Regions from separate parts of the Homo sapiens genome. Here regions 1 and 2 are each linked to region 3. The links are contacts of gene promoters, found by promoter capture Hi-C in human tissues and cell types (Jung and others, 2019). All regions are on one chromosome and are shown on one strand. The core of a region is centred on a gene start or on the middle of the fragment in contact, and the rest is flanking DNA. Distances in the headings are between cores, read along the strand shown.

Evidence for each region. Contacts are between HindIII fragments. The study calls those that stand out against the background at their distance.
Region 1: a fragment that was not itself captured here is called in contact with the fragment with the promoter of OVCH1 in region 3 in 1 of the 25 tissues and cell types used here (H1 embryonic stem cells).
Region 2: a contact is called between a fragment that was not itself captured here and the fragment with the promoter of OVCH1 in region 3, in 1 of the 25 tissues and cell types used here (dorsolateral prefrontal cortex).

What each region holds. Positions count from the first base shown.
Region 1 is chr12:30,552,670-30,556,276 of GRCh38, reverse strand. No RefSeq gene overlaps it. Among named protein-coding and RNA genes, the nearest start is that of IPO8, 140 kb to the left of the region's middle. The HindIII fragment of the contact is 6,980 bases long and covers 1-3,607 here.
Region 2 is chr12:30,676,966-30,680,162 of GRCh38, reverse strand. The region is part of intron 5 of IPO8 (importin 8); the gene reads left to right. Among named protein-coding and RNA genes, the nearest start is that of IPO8, 17 kb to the left of the region's middle. The HindIII fragment of the contact is 4,132 bases long and covers 1-3,197 here.
Region 3 is chr12:29,495,570-29,499,274 of GRCh38, reverse strand. It overlaps OVCH1 (ovochymase 1), which reads left to right and starts at 1,589. Exons shown (of 26, transcript NM_001353179.2): 1 at 1,589-1,652; 2 at 2,601-2,719; 3 at 2,997-3,094. The coding sequence starts at 1,589. The HindIII fragment of the contact is 2,638 bases long and covers 930-3,567 here.

The DNA.
Region 1 (3,607 bases), core at 656-3,155, 1.1 Mb before region 3:
TATGGTGGTTATCTCATCGTAGTTTTGACTTGCATTTCTTCAATGATTAGTGAAATTGAGCATCTTCATGTGCTTGTTGGCCATTCATATATCTTTTCTGGAGAAATGTCTATTCAAGTTCTTTGCCGATTTTTGAATCAGGTTATTTGCTTTTTTGTTGTTGGGTTTTAGAAGTTCACGATATATATTTTGATATTAATCTTTTTTCAGATATATTATTTACAAACTTTTCTTTGATTCTGTGAGTTGCCTTCTTATTCTGCTAACAGCATCTTTTGACGCACAAAAGTTTTGATTTTTATGAAGTCCAATGTCTATTTTTCTTTTCTTTTTAAAAAAACATATTTTAAGTTCAGGGGTAGAGGTACAGGTTTATTACATATGTAAATATGTCATAAGAGTTTGTTGCATAGATTATTTCATCACTCAGGTATTAAGCCTAGTACCCATTAGTTATTTTTCCTGATCTTCTCCCTCCTCCTACCCTCCACCCTCTGATAGGCCCCAGTGTGTGTTGTTACTCTGCATGTGTCCATGTGTTCTCATCATTTAGCTCCCACTTATGAGAACATATGTATGTGCTTTTCTGTTTCTGTGTTAGTTTGCTAAGGATAATGGCCACCAGCTCCATCTATGTCCCTGCAAAGGACATGATCTTGTTCTTTTTTATGGCTGCATAATATTCCATCCCATATATGTACCACATTTTCTTTATCCGATCTATCATTGATGGGCATTTGGGTTGATTCCATGTCTTTGCTATTGTGAATAGTGCTGCAGTGAGCATGTGTGTGCATGTGTCTTTATAATGGAATGATTTGTTTTCCTTTGGGCATATACCCAGCAATGGGATTGCTGGGTCAAATGGTATTTCTATCTTTAGGCCTTTGAGGAATTGCCACACTGTTTTCCACAATGGTTGAAGCAATTTACATGTCCACCAACAGTGTATAAGCGTTCCTTTTTCTCCACAACCTCACCAGCATTTGTTATTTTTTGACTTCTTAGCAATAGCCATTTCGATGGTTGTAAGATGGTATCTCATTGTGGTTTTGATTTGCATTTCTCTAATGATCAGTGATGTTGAACTTCTTTTTCATATGCTTGTTGGCTACATGTATGTCTTCTTTTGAGAAGTGTCTGTTCATGTCCTTTGCCCACTTTTTAATGGGTCTGTTTGTTTTTTTTCTTGTAAATTTGTTTAAGTTTCTTATAGATGCCAGATATTATAACTTTGTCAAATGCCTAGTTTGCAAAAATTTTCTCCCATTCTGTTGGTTGTCTGTTTATATATTTTTCTTTTGTTACCTGTGCCTTTGTTACAATATCCAAGAAATTATTGCCAAATCCAATGCCATGGAGCTTTTCCTGAAAAAAAAATTTCGATCCTGGAAAAAATTTACATCATTATTGACTCCTCATTAAGAATCTTAACATTGCTGGGTGTGGTGGCTCACGCCTGTAATCCCAGCACTTTGGGAGGCCAAGGCGGGCAGATAATTTGAGGTCAGGAGTTCGAGACCAGCTTGGGCAACATGGTGAAACCCTGTCTCTACTTAAAAAAAATACAAACATTAGCTAGGCACAGTGGCATGCACCTGTAGTCCTAGCTATTTGGGAGGCTGAGTCAGGAAAATCGCTTGAACCTGGGAGGCAGAGGTTGCAGTGGGCCGAAATCATGCCACTGCACTCCACTCCAGTCTGGGTGACAAAGTGAGACTCTATCTCTCCCCCTCCCCGCAAAAAAAAGAAAGAAAAGAAAAATCCTAAAATTATTGTCTAGGGACAGTTCAACATCAATTTAGTAACATCTTTTATTTAATCATAATGTGGTCATCTGGCTTGTGCTTAAGTATCTCCATGACAAGATGCTGAATGTTCTTAAAAGAAGATTGGATCATTAATGAAAGAAAGTCTATAAAGACTGGAAATCCTTTATTTTAAGCTGAAATGTTTATTCCTCCTGTATCCACTATCAGCTTTAGTTTTATACCAAATCTATTTAGAGCAACACAAAATAAATTTCTGTTGCCACAATAAATGTCTTCAAATATTCGAAGAGCATTATCCACCCCTCTCCAAGTTTTTTTCTTTTTGGTCCACGCTTTTATTGTGTTAGTTTCATTAAAAGAGCTAAATAATAAAAAAACTGTGCTATTAAAAGAAATGATTAAACTTGCAGGGTATGTATTCTTGGAGTAATTAATATTTAACCAGAGAAGGAGTATAGTGTAGTAATTAAATCTATGGGCTAAAATCCTGACTGTGTCACTTATTAGCTTGTGATGTTGGGCCTGTTACTTAATCTTCTTGTGTCTTAGTTTATTTGTAAGATGAGGATAATAATATTATCTAACTTATAGGGTGGTTATCAACATTTAATTAGTTAATACATATAAAGCTGTTAGAATAGTGCCTGTCACGTAGTAAGTACCCAACACATTTTAGCTGTTATTATTAACTCAAATATATTTATCCTCCATGTAAGACTATTTGATCCATTGGTCAATCAGCAAGTGCCTTTTTTTTAAGTCCTTATAATTTTAGTAACATGTTTACATATGTATATATGCATATAGTATATATTTATAAATTTATTATAAAATTATGTTAGTAAAAAAACTTAAGAAGGTCGATGTTGAAAATTTTTACCAGATGAGAGAATATCCAGATAACTTCAATCTGAAATTTGGCATTGTTGTCTCTATTGAGGGTTCAACCTCAATTTACTTTCTCCAAATTTCTTTGCATTTATTTTTCAAAAGTCACTTGTTCATTTTCAGACATAATTTTGTAACTTGAAGTTTTGTCCAAAATATAATTGGCATGACTTTAAGACATCATAGAGCCCAAGGAGTGGCTTTGCCCAATAAAAGGAAAACATACGGTGCCTCTATTTGTAAGTGTTTATCAATGAGCAAAATATGTATACTTTTTATTTTTAATGCTGTGGATATAAAACACCTACTGGATGCAAGACATAGTGTTTTAAACAGAAAGAATCAGTCTTTCTTCTTAAAGAACTTCCAGTGCAGTGGAAGATATAAAACATTGTTATAGAGAGACCTAACACCACAATTCAACAGATTGTGACTTTCAAATGATGGATATAGACAGTATTTAAAGAGTTCTGCAGAAGCAAGCTCAAAGTGGCTGGGGTAGTCAGGGAAAGCTTCCCAAGAAAGGAAGAAACAAGGTGCAGCTTCATGAATGAGCAGTGGTCAAGCCAGGGTGGGGTGGGCTGTTCCAAGAACATGAACAGGCACAGAGGTAGCAATGCCCAAAACATATTCAGGCGCTGCTGAGCTAGAAGACAGGGTTTTTGTAGGCAAACAGAAAGGGAAAACTGAAAATGATAATCCTGAGATACTGTGGGTCCCTGAATAATAAAAAACTGAAGGCTCAATTATGAAACCAAATTTAAAACATAATGTCAGTTAACCAAAAGATACATTAGATAAACCTGTCAATGATGTTAGATTTTACTGTATATGTTTAAAGATTAAAGGAATATTAATTCATAAATGTAATGTCTTGACTCAATTAAATGTTCATGCTTCAAGAGTTTTGTCAAGATTTTGCTTTCTTAGTTTCTTTTTGTGAACCA
Region 2 (3,197 bases), core at 26-2,525, 1.2 Mb before region 3:
TGATTACAAGAGAAGAAGAAGGAAAAGAAGAAGGAAAAGAAGAAGGAAAAGAAGAAGGGAGTCCCTCTTCTATTGGGAAATCATATTGATGGTAGTTTCTTTGCATTTGACTCAAAGCTAACAGAGGATTTAGGGTTCATTTTCCTTGGTTTAAAATACTGCCTAAAAAAAAAAAATCTGAATGCTATAAGGGATACCAACATGGGAATCCGGAAAGAAATGAGAAGATAGAGATGGAATATGTTTGAAATATAAAAATATTTAACATCAAATCCTTGAAAGATTTGGGTAAATTATTTAGGTCTGATTGGAGGAAGAATAATTGTTTTCAGTCTTAACTGTTTGATGAATGAATTAAACTCTATTACATGCTTTCTAGTTGAATTTGTCGTGAGAAGAGGATGGTTTTGTTGAGCTCAAAAACCATGATAGTTTGGATCCATCCTTGGCTTTTTATTGACTTAGATACTTAAACTATTTCAAAATATTTTACTTTAATAAAGATTTATATTTTTATTAAAGCTTCCCCTTTTAAACTTTTAATAGGGATAGTCTGAGGCAGATATTTTTTTTTTTCCCCCAGAGCAGCCTTTTTGCAGGGAAAGAGAAGAGGGAAGGAGGCAAATGTGAGAAGAGAAGAAACTAGAATACTAGGAAAATATGTTCTCTCACTTGTTTTGAAATAATATTCAGAGGCCAGACTTCCTTTTTCTATTGGCAGAAACAGCTAGAAATTGGGAAGTAAGACAAAGGCTAATGAAATAATTTTTCTAAAGCCTCTACCTCTAATTGGTTTGCTAAGACGACAGAATCTTCATATTTTTCTCAGTCTATACTTGCTAAAAACCTGGAAAACCTCAACATTTTTAACCATTTTGGTAATCTGTTATGTACTAATACATTAATATTCTCCTCTGGGAAGTAGAAATTTAGAAGGCATTAGGAGCCACTATTACAATGCTGACATAAGTAAAAAGCGATAATATGAGAAGGAGCAGACAATTTTGTTTTTAAAAGTATGAGCAGCCGGGTGCAGTGGGTCAGGTCTGTAATCCCAGCACGTTGGGAGGCCAAGGTGGGTGGGTCACCTGAGGTCTGGAGTTCAAGACCAGCCTGGCCAACATGGTGAAACCCCATCTCTAGAAAAATACAAAAATTAGCCAGAAATGATGGCGGGTGCCTCTAATTCCAGCTATTCCAGAGGCTGAGGTGAGAGAATTGCTCAAACCCAGGAGGCGGAGGTTGCAGTGATCTGAGATTGCACCATTGCACTGCAGCCTGGGTGACAGAGCGAGACTCCGCCTCAAATAAAATAAAAGTATGATACAACAGATCTTGTCTAAGTAGCATAATATTTGTACAGGACACTTGGATATTCTATACATAAGCTCAGCCTAACCCTCAGCCTACTTCTCCTCTGTTCCCTATATCAAATCCAAATGGCTTCCAAATGCACTTAGAATAAAGTGCATTTGAAACTTCTTAATATAGCCCATAAAGCCCTTCATCTCCTCACCTTCTTCTCTTATTCCTACCTTTGTACATGTACAGTCATGTGTTACTTAACTTTGGGGATGCATTCTGAGAAAATGCATTGTTAAGTAATTTTTGTCCCTCTGTGAACATTGTAGAGTGTACTTACACAAACCTAGATGCTATAGCCTACTACATACCTAGGCTGTGTGTTGCTCCCTGGCTGCAAACCTGTACATGTTACTGTACCAAATACTGAAAGCAGCTGTAACTCAATGGTAAGTAATAGAAAAGATATGCTAAAAATGCAGTATAAGATATTTTTTAAAAAGCACTCCTGTATAGGGTACTTACCATGAATGGAACTTGCAGGACTGGAAGTTGCTGTGGGTGAGGTAGTAGTGAGTGAATGTGAAGGCCTAGGACGTTAGTCTATGCTTATAAATGTTGAACATTTAGGCTACACTAAATTTATAAAATTTATCTGCAATAATAAATTAACCCTAGCTTAGCTTACTGTAACTTTTTTACTTCATAAACTTTAAATTTTTTTTTTTTTTTTTTTGAGATGGAGTCTCCCTCTGTCGCCCGGGCTGGAGTGCAGTGGCACAATCTCGGCTCACTGCCACCTCCGCCTCCCGGGTTCAAGCAGTTCTCCTGCCTCAGCCTCGATTTACAGGCGCCTGCCACCATGCCTGGCTAATTTTTTGTATTCTTAGTAGAGACGGGGTTTCACTGTTTTGGCCAGGCTGGTCTCAAACTCCTGACCTCATGTTCCGCCTGCCTTGGCCTCCCAAAGTGCTGAGATTACAGGCGTGAGCCACCACGCCTGGCCAAACTTTAAAATTTTTAACTTTTTGACTCTGTTGTACTAACACTTAGTTTAAAATATTAACATGTTGTACAACTGTACAATAATATTTTCTTTATATCCATATTTTAAAAGGTTTTATATTTTAGAATTTTATTTTTTTTCAAACTTTTTCATTAAAAACTAAGACACACACACATTAGCCTAGGCCTATGCAGGGTCAGGATCATCAATATCACTGTCTTCCACTTCTGTATTCTGTCCTGCTGGAGTGTCTTCATTTCAGGGGCAATAACATGCATGGAGCTGTCATCTATGATAACAATGCCTTCTGGAATACTCCTGAAAGACCTACCAGAGGCTGTTTTAGATAACTTAAAAAAAAAAGTAGAAGGAGTACACTCTAATGATGAAAAGTATTGTGTAGTAAAAATATAAACTAGTAGCATAGTTGTCATTACCAGTTACGTACTGTATAAAATTGCTATACTTTATACAGCTGGCAATTCAGTAGGTTTGTTTGCACCAGCATCACCACAAATATTTGAGTAATGCATTGTGCTGTGACTTTAAGATGGTTACTATGTCACTAGGCGATAAGAATCTTTCAGCTGTGTTCTAATCTTATGGGACCATTGTTGTATATGCAGTCTGTCACTGACCGAAACATTTGTTATGTGGTGCATGACTTTATATACATTTTTTCCAGTTAGAGTGTAAGCTTCGTGAGGGCAAAGATTGTCTATCTTATTATGTCTGTAGCATGTAGCATGTTTTGTACTGAATGGATGTGGAGGCAATATCCGTCTTCTGCAACTCACAGTACAGCAGAGGTGAGCCATATATCTGTTTAGTACAAAGTGGACTGTAGTTATTATGCTACAGTGTAGAGGAAAGTAATTTAAAAAAATGT
Region 3 (3,705 bases), core at 340-2,839:
TTGTTTAGTAAAGGCTTTTTGGTGGGTTTCATCTTACCTCTTGCTAAAAAGAAAGAGGGCTTTGGGTCCATGTGGGGGCTCTGAGCTTTTATTGGAGAACGGTGTGGCCCTGGAGCTGGCATGGTGGTTCAAATGGTCACCCCTGTGTGATGACTACAGGGAGGAAAGTGGTGAGGGCCACTGTTCAGGTAGCCACACATCTGGACATTCCCTGGACAGTACTGAAGCCTGGAGGTTCAATGTTTTATTTTCACAGAAGAGCTGCTTACCTTAAGAGCATGCTGGACACCCCCTATCCCCTAGACACCCAGGCATGAAACTAAGGAGTCATCTACTCAAACTGTCATCCGAGGTGTCTTTCCTTGAAATAAATACTCAAAAGAAAATAGTGCTACTCTCAAGAACAGCACAGTCCCATAAAACTATTGGTGATGACAGAATGTTCTGTATTTGTGCTGTTCAATATGGTAGCCACTAGCCACAGAGGGTAAATGGACACCTTTTGAAGATGCCACAGCGACAGGCATCATTCACTTTTTTTAGTCTTTTCTTCAAATGGTGTCCATTTACCCTCTGCTCTCTCCTGCAGTCACAGAGGTCATTGTCCCCAGTAGATTGTCACCTGCTTGTACCTGTGCCTGCATTCTCTCCACCTTGACTGCCTTCTGTTTTCCCATCTACCTGCTCATCTCCCACCTGCCCCCATTAGTTTATGTACCCTCCTACCTCAAGAAGCTTTTATTTCTATTTTACATGAAAGTAAAATAGAGCACTTGAACGTAAAATCCTCCAACTGGTGCTGAAGGACTGGTGGCCAGGTTATTTGATATATATGGAATGTCCACTTAGCCTTGCCTTAATTTTCTGACAAAATATAAGACCATTACAAATTCTGGCTTTGTCTTCTAACTTCAGCTTAACTTATTACAAAATAATATTCATGGGAAAAAAAGTGATATCTCACCACTAGATTAATTTTAATCATCTTAAATGATGGATCCTACAGTTTTGGGGCCATTCTGCTGAAATGGAGGACAGTACTGCCACCCAGAAAATGATGTCAGCTCAAGCCTGATCTTTCCTATTCACTCTTTGAAAACTCTAGAGGGTCAAGGGCAACAAGCTTCTTAGAAGGGGCAGTATTGTACTAAGCTTCCTGACCCTCCGCCTTTCAGAAGTCCTGCCTGTGTTTCGTGTGGGGGACCAGCTTCATTGCCCCTGAGCTTGGACCGCACTCCCCAGTCTGGGAATTCGCAGGGCTAAGCGTTCCAGGCCACTGATTGGCTTGCTGTGGATCTGCTAGCAGGAACCTCTGCACACGTGTGAGCACCACTGTCACCCCTTGGGCCACCTCGTGCCAGTCTCTAAGGCTGGGTGGCGGGGCACTGTGACACCAGGGGTGACCAGAGAGCGGCGGCAGCTCACAATGATCAAATGATCGTGAAGAGGGACACCTGCGAACCAAGGCGCCACGGCAGGTGCTGCCCATAGGCACCGCAGGAGGGGATAAAGGGCGAGACCCCCGCCTTCACCACAGTTTTCTCAGCCTGCAGGGAGGGAGGACGTGCGAGGCCGGTGCGTGGAGGCTATGGGCCTGCTGGCCAGTGCTGGTTTGTTGCTGTTGCTGGTCATCGGCCACCCCAGAAGCCTAGGTGAGCCTAGGGACCTGGGCACCAGGACTGCGGAGGAGGCTGAGCGTGCTGGAGAGGGAAGACTTCATTACTCCTTGCCTCAGGAAGTCGGGGTGGTATAGCCACACCTGAGGCATTTGGGAAGAAAGGGTGAGGGGGTGGTGCATGCTCAGATGTCCCCAAAGGAAGGTCTGGGCCAGACTGCCTTTTTGAAATTTTTTGCATTTTAGAGTTCGTTTGTAGGCACACCTGCTAATCATGTGTGTACTAAGGAGCCTCCTCCAAGGAAACCTAACCAAGTAGAAGTAACTTAAAGACAAATATCTCCCTTCCGGAGTAGTATAGGTCATTCCTCAGTATCTTTTGTTTTGTTTGTTTGTTTGAGACAGGGTCTGGCTCTGTCACCCAGGCTGGACTGCAGTGATGCGATCACGGCTCCCTCAAACTCCAGGGCTAATGTGATCCTCCTGCCTCTGCCTCCTGAGTAGCTGGGACCATAGGCACGTACCACCACACTTGGCTAATTTTTACATTTTTTTGTAGAGATGGGGTCTTGTCATGTTGCCCATGGTTCTGACCTCCTGGGTTCAAGTGATCAGCCTACCTGGGCCTCCCAAAGTGCTGGGATTACAGGCGGGAACCACTGCATGTGGCTCCTGGTATCTTTAACACAACCTAAATTTGCATCTTCCCAGAGTAAGCCCCAAGTCACCTACCAGAGGCAGCGCTGGCTCCTTCCTGCCCAGTGGTAACACAGGCTGAAAGGGAGCAGACAGGAGGCAAATTCCGGTCAACCCAGGTGACTGTGGGATATTCTGAAGAAAATATTGAGAGAAGAATGTGGTAGTCTGCAGCTAAGTGCTATCAGAATGTCTGTGCCAGGCCAGGAAAATCCAAATGGGAAATCTTGGTAAAGTGAACTCTTACATAAGGCTCTGTGTGTGCACACACACATGCTCTTCTACACAGGACTGAAGTGTGGAATTCGCATGGTCAACATGAAAAGTAAGGAACCTGCCGTGGGATCTAGATTCTTCTCTAGAATTAGTAGTTGGAGAAATTCAACAGTGACTGGACATCCATGGCAGGTCAGTGCAACAAAGGCATTGATTTCTTAATGAGAAAACAGTGAAATATTTCCTTTGTTTCGAAAGCAAGAATGCACGTTGATATGTAGTTTTTCTCCTGAACCCCTCTAGCTCTCTACCAAAAAGTTTACTTCGTAGGAACTATCTTACTATCCAATTTATGTCGGTATTTTAAGAATATTATGTCAGATTAGAAAAGTTGATCTCCAGTGTTTCCGATGGAGATACATATGTGGGGAGACATATTAGCTGCATTTGTAACTTTCTTCTTGGGTAGGTCTCCCTAAAATCAGATGAGCACCACTTCTGTGGAGGAAGCTTGATTCAAGAAGATCGGGTTGTTACAGCAGCACACTGCCTGGACAGCCTCAGTGAGTAAGTTGTGGATTTCCATTACTTGTCAGGCCTTGATTCCTGGCTATGCGACTGGCAGATTTGTTGCTCTAAATAGCAGGTTCATTCTCAGTCCCTTTCTTACTTTTGCCTCCCAGTGTACCCACCCACTGATCTTCCTGATTCCCAGAAATGTGTGTCTGTCCCAAGATTCCCAGTGCTTCCTGTTCTACTGAATTAAACAATCCCAGACATCATCTATAATTTATGGATTTAGTGCTTGGGTAGAGGTGGTGGTTACTTACTGTAATAAAGCATTAACAAGAAATGTTAAATGGATGCTCCAAAGTTTTAATCATCTGGGTTTAAATCATTAGGAGGGAAAAAACTGCAGAAATTACAAATATTTGACCAGATTAAAAGAGGGTACTAATAAGAGAAAAGAAGGAACAGTTCTAGAAAAAAACTTCTGTATCCTGTTACAAATGGCATTGCATGTGTGAACTATGGTTTGTATATCAAAGAAGAAAAGGATGCAATATTTAAATACTTGACTCAGAAAAATGGAAACATGACTGAAAACTACGATTTTTTCTAGATTAAAAAAAATATGACCATTGGTAATACTCAATAATAAGGAAAACCTTCTTCAA